Linked DNA regions of Homo sapiens: regions 1 and 2 are each linked to region 3. The links are contacts of gene promoters, found by promoter capture Hi-C in human tissues and cell types (Jung and others, 2019). All regions are on one chromosome and are shown on one strand. Each heading gives the region's core, a stretch centred on a gene start or on the middle of the fragment in contact. The rest is flanking DNA. Distances are from core to core; before and after follow the strand shown.

Region 1 (3,613 bases), core at 594-3,093, 260 kb after region 3:
AAGAAAGATATCAACTAAAAAAAAATAAGTAACTCGTTCGTATATATCAACAGTGCAACTTTGATGCAGTAGCTTAATGCTATTTCATTCCCATCTTTCTCTAAAAGAATGATTAAAGTATGTACTGTTTATACAACATTATCAGTTATTATTAAGTGAAAGGCCATTGACCTTTAATATTATCAGAGCCAAGTGGATTTAGGCCAGCTCTTTGATATCTAGGCCAGCTCCTTGACTCACAGTAGTTTGAGTTTTCTGTTTCAACACTCATGAAGTAAAAAGTAATTTTTAAAATTCTTAAACTTTTTCAGACAGCCAAAATGTTCATCAGTTATTTGAACTTGGACGTAAACAGAATTTCCAGCTATTTGAATCAATTAAACTGTCTGTTAAATCTATTTTATAGGTTACAACCTAAACCTATCCTCCAACCCCTCAGTACGTGTGTGTGCACTGCATGCACACACATATACACTCACATTTTAGCTTAACTTGCTGCCTTAAATAAGGCTATAGTTGGTATGAAACTTTATATCACTAATGCATAGATAAATGCAGGTAGTTAAAATAGATGGCATAAAGAGAAATATTCTTACAGTAATCTGTAAGTGTATCTTTCAGACCTAAATCACCTTAGAAAGAAATTTCACTTCTAAATAGATCATAAAATGTGTTTCCAGTGATATGAGATTCAGCCCTTCTTCTTTATTTTATTTATGTATTTTGAGACAGAGTCTTGCTCTGTCGCCCAGGCTGGAGTGCAATGGCACGATCTCAGCTCACTGCAACCTCAGCCTCCCAGGTTCAAATAATTCTCCTGCCTCAGCCTCCCAAGTAGCTGGGACTACAGGCATGTGCCACCATACCCAGCTAATTTTTGTATTTTTAGTAGAGATGGGGTTTCGCCATGTTGGCCAGGTTGGTCTCAAACTCCTGACCTCAGGTAATCCACCCGCCTTGGGTGTAATCCCTCCCAAAGTGCTGGGATTACAGGCGTGAGCCACCGCACTCGGCCAACCTTTCTTTTTAAACTACCCTTTAAGATAGCACTGGCAACATCTTGCTGGGTTACAGTGAAGAGGCTCTTTTTAGTTCAATGAAAGGATGATAATGATTGTCATGAAAGCTGTTGAACTGGGCATCTATGAAAAGTGGTTGTCTCCCTACTAGGGGATGCTGTGTGAAAATAAACTTTGGTTATTTCATCTTGATTGATAATTTGTTGAATATCTGCTGTGTTCATCTTTGAGTAACAAAATATAATTCAGGGATATTATTTGTTGGTGTAGTGCATAGCTATGTAGTATATTTAAAATAATATAAAATCTTAAGAAATAAGTATCTTTATTATACTTGCTTTACAGATGAGAAACTGAGGCTAGGATTTAAATGATTTATCCCCAAATCACTGATTTAAATTCTGACCATCTGACTCTAGAAACTATCCTTTTAAACAGCATGGGGTAGGTGTGGAGAGGAGGTTGGTATTGAAATGTTATATCTGCACTGGAATCTAGGAAAAGCAGAATTATGAGATCTCAGGGAAAGTGAGGACTGGGACCTGTCTAGGGACAGTCCACTCCCTCAATTCCAACTCCCTGTCTCTAGTTTCTCGTTTTTCTTCTGCCCCATTCTTATCCCTGCCTACTTCTTTCTCACCTTTATGAACCATTCCTATCCCTAAGACTAAATCTTCTGGCTTCTCAGTCCACAACTATCTCCATTTCTCAGATTGTCTATTTCAAAGTATCAAGCAAAGAATCTACCTTGTGCAGCTCATCTTTTAATCTTATACATGACAAAGACAACTGTGCATTACACATCACTTTGGGTCAGGAGTCTACCTCTGACCTAAGAAGCTGTTGTCAGGTAGTATATGCCGGTTGGGAGTAATGAGGAGAAACTAGCACAGTCTAGAGAGTGATGTGAAAGCAAGAAGGCAAACACAAATCACAACCAGTAGTTCCAAAAAAAGACTAATGAGACTGGGCTGGCTACTGATTATTTTCCTTTGAGGGAAAAAAAAAAGAGATTGAGAGAGGAAAAACCTTTCCTCTATCACATAAGCACTAAAATGAGCTGTTGTCTAAAACCCTTGGCCTTTCGTCTCATGTTCTCTCAACCTATCTTTGTTCCAGAGAAAGGGAAAGTCTAAAGAAGGCTGTACTTTTCTTTTAAAACATGAAAACAAAACAAAATCTCTTGCCATAAGACTCCAAATATTGACTTTTTAAGCCCAAGTTTCATTTCTCTATGGGAATTACTGCATAACACATAGCTTACGAGACATTTTCTCACAACTTCCCACTCAAAACAAGCAGTAACACCCTACCACCACCACTACAGAATTGCACTATCCCTAACACATATGATCATTACAAGCACATTTTGGACAGAAGCAGCCATTTTTCCCAGTGACCTATCACTTGTGGACACTTATATGTGCCAAGCACTTGGCCCAGGCAGCACAATTCCTATGTCCTTGGCAAACAGGAAGGAGAAGACGGCAAAAGGCAGTGATTTGGGGTGACAAGTTTTCACTAGAAAATAGGAGCGTCTCTTCTTTATTCCCACTTGACTGAACTTCCAGCATATATTCAATGTAACAAAAACATTATATTGGAAACACAAGGCATCCAGGCCTTTGGCCAAAAATGTAGGGGAAAAAAATAGAAAGCCTAATATTTCATGGGAAATTCTTGGCTTAAATAATATTTTAATAAAGCTTAGCTACATATGCCAATAAAGCATAGAGATGACATACTGATTTATGATTTAAATATCATTATAGTCTCTGTGATGCTGGTATCATTTTGTATCAAACAATATGAAAGAGGAAAAATCACTGGGGAAAAGAAGAGAAGAGCAACATGAAATCAATTGAGATATCAGTAGAATGTTTATTGCATATACCATCTAATTAAAAATTTGCTGTAAGGGTAATAATAGCTAACATACATTGAGCAGATATGATATAAGCCTTACAAGTATAATCTCTTTTGATCTTGAAAAAATTTCCCTGAGGTAGATATTATTATTTCCATTTAATAATTGAGATTCATAAAGGCTAACTTGAGCAAGGTTTAGCAGAACTCAGAGGCAAACTCAAGCAATCCAACTTCAAGGCCACACTCTTAGTCGTGTGCTATACTAGAATAAAGATTAATTTAGTGAAGTCAATTATTTGTTTTGGGAATAAATGATTTATACTGTATGTGTTAATACTGAGTGTCAACTTGACTGGATTGAAGGATGCAAAGTATTATTCCTGGGTATGTCTGAGGGTGTTGCCAAAGGAAATTAACATCTGAGTCAGTGGGTTGGGAAAGGTAGACCCACCCTTAACCTGGGTGGGCACCATCTAATCAGTTGTTAGCACAGCCAGAATATAAAGCAGGCAGAGAAATGTGAAAAGACTGGACTGGATTAGCCTCCCAGCCTACATCTTTCTCCCGTGCTGGATGCTTCCTGCCCTCGAACACTGGACTCCAGTTTCTCCAGCTTTGGGACTTGGACTGGCTCCTTGCTCCTCAGCTTGCACATGGCCTATTGTGGAACCTCACCTTGTGATTGTGTGAGTTAATAGTCCTTAACAAACTCCCCTTTATATATA
Region 2 (3,778 bases), core at 1-2,500, 280 kb after region 3:
GATCATTAGTGCCTCTGTGCGCATCCAGGTGGTCAAGAAAACAACTACACCTGAAGGGGAGGTGGTTCCTATTCACCAACTGGACATTCCTGTTGATAACCCAATCGAGAGCAATAACATTTTTCTGGTGGCCCCTTTGATCATCTGCCACGTGATTGACAAGCGCAGTCCCCTGTATGACATCTCAGCAACTGACCTGGCCAACCAAGACTTGGAGGTCATAGTTATTCTGGAAGGAGTGGTTGAAACTACTGGCATCACCACACAAGCACGAACCTCCTACATTGCTGAGGAGATCCAATGGGGCCACCGCTTTGTGTCCATTGTGACTGAGGAAGAAGGAGTGTATTCTGTGGATTACTCCAAATTTGGCAACACTGTTAAAGTAGCTGCTCCACGGTGCAGTGCCCGAGAGCTGGATGAGAAACCTTCCATCCTTATTCAGACCCTCCAAAAGAGTGAACTGTCTCATCAAAATTCTCTGAGGAAGCGCAACTCCATGAGAAGAAACAATTCCATGAGGAGGAACAATTCTATCCGAAGGAACAATTCTTCCCTCATGGTACCAAAGGTGCAATTTATGACTCCAGAAGGAAATCAAAACACATCGGAATCATGACAGCAAGATAACCCCAAGACAGTCTTTTATCAAGTTTTGACGGTTTATGCTGGGCACTGCCAGACTGAACCAGAGCTGGAACACAATAATGTGTCCTTCTACATTTTATTACACTAAATGATATTCATATTCAAGCAACAGCACTTTCTGTAGTAATAAAAAGTAACACACCAAGTGGAGGATTCATGGCTTATGCTTGTTTCATACATGTAGAATTCGCAGTGATATACTTAAGTTATGTGCAGGGGTGGGTATGCTCGTTTCTCTCAATTTGAAACACAAGAATTACACTAATAGTAACAGGCCTTGAGCACAAAATTTGGTCAAGAAATGAGTCTGTTTGAAATGCTTAGTTGGTGAAACCCAGATCGCTGTGTTACTAATGATCACTCTGGAAATGCAAATAGAATAGGAGGGGAAAAAACAAAATCATGTTAATGCGTTTTGTACATCAGCCTTCTCCTGTCTCCATGATAACTGCATTTGGTAGGAAGCCTGAGGCAAAAACTGCTTAAGTGGATCTGTTTGTAAGTGGATTCAGTTCATTCGCTTTGTCTGTCGGTGACTCCTGAAGGTTTCCTGGTCCATCTCATTGCGGCCTGTTGGGCAGAGCTGGACAAGGTGTCTTTGAAGGAAAGCTAAGTCTTGTCTCATTTAGGACTGGGTTCCCCACAGTGACAGTCACTTCCTTCAGCATCTCACTTCTTCTTCTAGAATCCCCACAGGGAAATACTGTATTGAATATTTTATTAAAACATTTTCTTTGTACTCACTGTAGTTTTGTGATTCCTCTTTCACAAAATCATCCCAAGTTAAAACTCAAGATGTTTTTAGAGCCATGTAAAAGAGATGTCAAAGTGATAACACTCACTCTGAGATTCCTCTCTCTCAAGTCTGTTTGCTCCAAAACTAGCTTTTTTTTGCTTTGTTTTGATTTTATTTCAGGTTTTAAAATGTCCTCTTGGTTTTTCAATCTAAGCCTGACATACCATAAAAATCCTATAAGCTTTTTTTTTTAATCTTCAATCTCCCATCTTAAAACTATACTTCCTTCCCAGTAGTATCTGAATTTAGGCTTGGCATTTATAGATTTAGCATCATCTCATTTGCTAAAGTGAGATTTTCTATCAAAGCTTCATTTAAGCATATTTAGTGCCTGCTTCTTCAAGGAAGGGATGAGACAGGAGAGAGAAGTACTAGGTTAATAAACTATATATGCTTTTATTCTTACATTTTATAGCTAAACATCAGAAAGCTGAGCTATTGTGAAATCTTTCACACAGATTTGGGGGTTTGTATTTATGAACATTGAAATAGGTAATTATGAAATGTTCTATCTTAAGACTCATGATTCCAACCAGGTGAACAGAAACTGTTTATCACGTCATTGAGTTAATCATTCCTGAAAGGGTTCTAACTGTTCCTCTGAACTCCAGACTCACAGATCAAACAGGCACCTGAGGCTCCACTTGGAGATTGAACAAGCATTTCAAACTTACTAGGTCTAAAACCAAATACTTCATTCTCACTCACAAAAGCTGCCCTCCTCCCAGTCTTTCTTCCAATCACTCAGGCATCAAGCCATGACCTGGAAGTCATTCTTGCTGCCTCTTTCATACCCTACATGCCATCCATTAGCAATTACCTCTCGGCTCTGCCTTCAAAATATATCCAGAATATGACCAATTCTCTTTACTCCACCACTTCCTTCATAGTCCAAGCAAGGATACTGTATATATGCATGCATCTGTACCAATTGTTTGAATATTAAAACATTTCTGTCTAGGTTGCTAAAGACTATCTTAATAAAACTTAACCCAACAGCAACTATGGAGGTGGATATCAGACCTCAAAGCAGTTCTGGAACAGATGCAGGTTCCCACCTTCCCACCCCAGGGCAGCTGAGCAGACCCAGAGGTAGCTGCCACACAATCCAGCAGTAAGAACATGGATAGTGCCTTCCTGCTGCTCAGTAGTAGCCCAACTTTGTAGAGGTGACACAGGCTGTGCAACAGGTGATGTCAGGACATAGTGGAGCTGAGATGCAAAATTTCTGAGTCCAGGGTCTAGAGAATTCCCTGGCACCAGGGGCAAAGCTAGCTATGGAGTACGGGAAGTTCCCCCAGCCACCTTCCAGCTGCAACTAAACGCTGAGTGTCAAGGACCTAATGACTGTCAATATAATGGGCATGTCAACGAAAGGTTATGAGGGGCTCCCTATGTCAAGCTGTGGCTCAGACAGGGACATCATTTAGCTAGAGACAGCCACACCAAACAAAAGGTTCTATCAACAATTTCTAAAAGTCTGAAAATGTTTTAGAGAGTATTAAAATGATTTTCTGACCTATTTTTGCTAAAACATATTTCACTGGGTAAGCAATTTTGAGAACTACATAGTTTTAGAAGATAAGACGGACTCTGTACATATATATGTGTACATGTATGATTTTGACTTACATATTGTGTTTAAATATTATTTTATATTCAGTATTTTGGTTCTCTGCTTCTACCCTTTCTTCCACCTCCATAATTCATACAGCAGCCACAATATTTTTTTAAATCACAAGTCAAACTACATGACACCTCTTCTTAAAGCCCTCTTCTGCCTTTTTCATTTTCTTTTTTTTTTTTCTTTTTTGCAGACAGAGTCTCACTCTGTCGCCCAGGCTGGAGTGCAGTGGCACGATCTCAGCTCACTGCAACCTCTGCTTCCCAGGTTCAACAGATTCTCGTGCCTCAGCCTCCTGAGTAGCTGGGATTACAGGTGCGTGCCACCACGCCTGGCTAATTTTTTGTATTTTTAGTAGAGCCGGGGTCTTACCATGTTGCCCAGGCTGGTCTCAAACTCCTGAGCTCAGATAATCTGCCCACCTCGGCCTCCCAAAGTGCTAGGATTACAGGTGTGAACCACCGTGCCCAGCCCTTTTTATTTTTCTTAAAATGCAAACCAAAATCCTTACCAAGGCCAACAAGCCACTACATCTCATTGTTAGCGCTCTTCCCCTCAGAGACTCCTACACTTTACCACACTGGCCTTTCTGCTCTTTGAGAAAGAGACATATGGCTCCTGCATCATAGATTTGCTTCTACCTGGAGAGTTTTCCCTCAGAAAGCCTCATGAGTCTCCCCTGTCATTATTTAGTCTCTGCTCGAGTGTCA
Region 3 (3,521 bases), core at 137-2,636:
TGAAACATTAAGAAAATTAGTATATTTATACTTTTTTGGCATCTCCCGTTTTTGAACAAGACTGGTTAAATGAAAATCATTTACCCATATATTAATATGGGTAAGCAAATATAGGTTCAAAAAGAAAAAGAGATGACTTCAAAAACAGTCATCTCTTTAAAAATCGAAACATCAAAAGGTTAACATAAATTAATTTCCACAATAACAACACATTCAAATGTAGTTAGGTTGAAGCTATATGTGTAAATTCATTCTTGGCACAGAATTCGATCTCCCTTCTTTTATGAATAACATCAGCTTGTAACTCCTGACCAATTTGGCAATGTATCTAAATTACGCATAATTAAAACTGTCCATAGGGCAGGCGAGGTTCCAAAGGTATGATTAAATGATTTGTAAGTATTAATATATCATAAAACAGTCAGTTGTACACCTTCCCACTGAGTCTCACGTATTTATAAATGTAGGGAGTTTTCTAGATTGTGCTGACTCACAGGAAGATAGCTGGAGTATTTTTCAAAGGTTAGGAAAAGATCTCCAAGCTGAGCTTGAAATTCAGCTCTGACACCCCGACACTCAACTCCATTCATGAACCTGATGCCTCCCTAATCGAGCAGCACCAAGCAGTTATCAGAGGCTGAGCAACAGGGGAGCTTCGATGGCCCCCATCCAAAGAAGTTCACATATTATCACAGATGTTGCACCGGGGTGGCCTCCTTTACTTTTCCCCGTAAGGTCAACCCGGGAGGAGGGGACGGTTGGGGAGGTGTAATCTCCCCTTTTACGGATGATTCTCAAGGGCGGAGACAGGAACTGTCCCAGGTTATGACCATTGGCAGCTACGGAACAAGGAAGGAGCTGGAGCCCTTCCTCCTGGGCTCTCAGCCCGGCCCCAGGCACCCCGGATCTTGCACATCCCTGGCATGAGAGATGGCCCCCTTCCAAGAGCGGTGGCCCCGGAGGCCCCAGCCCCTCCAGCAGCCCGACTCCCTCTCCCGACCCCCGCCCAGGCCGCGCCGCCCACTCTCGCACATGCGCACCTCTGGAAGGCCCCTGAATCCAGGGCCGCACGCAGGACCCAGCCAATGAGCGGGACCCCCGCCAGGTGCTTAATGTTCTTCAGGGGGATGCCTTTGCTGCCTCCCCGGGCCAGAATTAGGGCTGCCAGGTGCGGGGGCTTCTCCACACCTCGGCCCTGGCCGCCGCGAGAGTTGCGCTGCAGCTTCGGCGGCCGGCCCCGGGACGGTCGCCCCCGCGGGTTGGAGACGGAGGTGGCGGCCCCCTTCTCCACCGAGTCCATCTTCCTCCCACGCCTTCTCCCCAGCTTCTCCACATCCGGGAGCTAGTCCCTCACCACCTCAGCTCGGCGCCGCCCGATCCCCGCCTGGCAGCTGGCGCGCGCGGCCGTCCCTCGCCCCGCCCCCTCCCCCGCCCCTCGCGGTGCTCGCTGGGAATTGTAGTCCGCGGCCGCCTCGTCTGGGGCCAGTAGGCCAAGTAGGCTCTGATGAGGTGACCCCAAAACTAAGTCAAGCAGTGGGAGTCCAGAGATATTTGGAGGAAGTGCGGCTTTTGGGGTGCTTGCAAGTGTCTGTAAATTTCTAAAATTAAAAAAGAAAAAAAGTATTTATAATTGCTGAAGAACTTCCCCACTTTAGAATTGTGGTGGGTTTCCCGTTGCATACCTTGATGCACCCTGACACGAATCCATTTTATATTTTAAAATGTACATTTTAAACATACACCTTTTTTTAATGCCCCTGGGTCATTTTTTCCAAGAAATTACTGACCAGCTCATTCAAATATCCTACAGGCGCCTTAAACTCAACGTTTTAAAAACTCCATTTTTCATATGCTCTCCGCACTTTGATCGACATCAGCATTCCCTAGCAGCAGAAATTTGGAAGTCAGCTTTACTGGTCACCTCTAGTGTGGCCGACACTTGGTTTTTTGGTTTTGTTTTGTTGTCTGCTAAAAATCTTTTCCTTTTAGGAATTGATCCCTCTCTCATCCGGTGAGGGTTTCCCTCACATTCTCTGCACTGTGTGTGACCCAAGCTGGTCCATCTACGCACCCCATTTTCCTTAACACACCTGTGGTCTAGGGACAGGCATATGACCAAGCAGAGCCCACTGGAGTCCTTTCCAGAGAGTCTTGGAAAGAAAGGATCTTTCTCGTGCTGACTGGGTGCTAAGGACCTTGTTAACCTGAAGCCTCAGGGCAAGGGTAGGGTAGGGCGGCAGGGGGGCTTTGCTGTTCTGAAATGGGCTGGAAGACTGATGTTCTCCCTGAGGAAGCAGAACAATGACATGTAGGGATTAAAGAGAAAGAATTCTGGAGGCATCATTTAAACTCTTTTTTTTTTTTGAGACAGATTCTCACTGTGTCCCCCAGAAGGCTGGAGTGCAGTGGCACAATCTCGGCTCGCTGCAACCCTCTGCCACCCATTCTCAAGCGTCCTGAGTAGCTGGGATTACAGAGGGGCACCACCACACCCAGATAATTTTTGTATTTTTAGTTGAGTTGGGGGTTTCACCAGGTTGGCCAGGCTGGTCTTGAACTCCTGACCTCAAGTGATCTGCCCGCCTCAGCCTCTCAAAGTGCTGGGATTATAGGCATGAGCCGCCACGCCTGAGCATTTAAACCCTGATCCAGCCAAGAGGCTCAAAGACATACACCCACACACACCTCTCTTAGGAAAAAAAAAAAAAGAGACTTTAAAGCAGGCATCTCTGACCTAGCATGCATTTTGTCTTTCAGCATGTTTGCAAGCCTATATTTGGAAGTAGAGTCTTTTACATTTCTGAGATGGAGGCTGATACAAACAGAAAGAATGGATTGTAGTGTGTCGGCTTGCCTTCTCCCAGAGGGCAAAAGGATTTTGTACTTCTCAGGTCTTGGCCATTTTTGAGGGGAGAGAAGAAGTCTTTGATGTTTTGGGTCCTATGAGAGGTACTGGATACTTTACATCTCTTAGTCTGTGAATTAACTGAGGGCCCAGCCCTTCCTGGGACTGGTGCTGGAAGAAGGTGCTTCGTGCAGACACAGATAAGGGAGGCTGTGAGCAGACATCAATGCCATGCTTGGGAAAGGGGCAGGCTCTATGAGCCATTCCAGCACTGAAGGGCAAGGGGACAACTTGCCCCCATACACTGGCTCTTTGAGTAGGGCCTTTGCAGTTGCTGTGCCTCAGAGACACCAGCACTGAGCTTTTGGTAGTCATGTGAGGACCCCTACTACACCCCAATAACAATCTTGATTCCTATTAATGATTTAGTTGCCCTTCTCCACAGTAATTCCCTACAGGCCCATAAATCCTAGTGGACCACAGACACCTGAGTAGTTTTGACTCCTGGGGCATATTGGTGTCCTCTAAGCTGGGAACAGAGCAAGTGGCACCACTGTTACTTATCAAATGAGATTATAGCGATTTACATAAATACCAAGAGACTTTGAACTCTTCCAGGAGAGGGACTGTTCCTTCTTTGTAATCTTCTCATCCAGAACAATGCATGGGTCACAGT

The links. Contacts are between HindIII fragments. The study calls those that stand out against the background at their distance.
Region 1: a fragment that was not itself captured here is called in contact with the fragment with the promoter of CMAS in region 3 in 2 of the 25 tissues and cell types used here (mesendoderm cells and thymus).
Region 2: a fragment that was not itself captured here is called in contact with the fragment with the promoter of CMAS in region 3 in 4 of the 25 tissues and cell types used here (IMR-90 fibroblasts, lymphoblastoid cells, mesendoderm cells and 1 more).

What each region holds. Positions count from the first base shown.
Region 1 is chr12:21,785,112-21,788,724 of GRCh38, reverse strand. The region is part of intron 2 of KCNJ8-AS1 (KCNJ8 antisense RNA 1); the gene reads right to left. Among named protein-coding and RNA genes, the nearest start is that of KCNJ8, 12 kb to the right of the region's middle. The HindIII fragment of the contact is 4,164 bases long and covers 1-3,613 here.
Region 2 is chr12:21,762,564-21,766,341 of GRCh38, reverse strand. KCNJ8 (potassium inwardly rectifying channel subfamily J member 8) reads left to right here. Exons shown (of 3, transcript NM_004982.4): 3 at 1-1,387. The coding sequence ends at 619. The region is part of intron 2 of KCNJ8-AS1 (KCNJ8 antisense RNA 1); the gene reads right to left. Among named protein-coding and RNA genes, the nearest start is that of KCNJ8, 10 kb to the left of the region's middle. The HindIII fragment of the contact is 5,103 bases long and covers 1-3,778 here.
Region 3 is chr12:22,044,083-22,047,603 of GRCh38, reverse strand. CMAS (cytidine monophosphate N-acetylneuraminic acid synthetase) reads right to left here and starts at 1,386. Exons shown (of 8, transcript NM_018686.6): 1 at 1,041-1,386. The coding sequence starts at 1,300. RefSeq lists enhancers at 254-959, 1,275-1,569 and silencers at 1,262-1,489, 1,133-1,502. The HindIII fragment of the contact is 20,290 bases long and covers 1-3,521 here.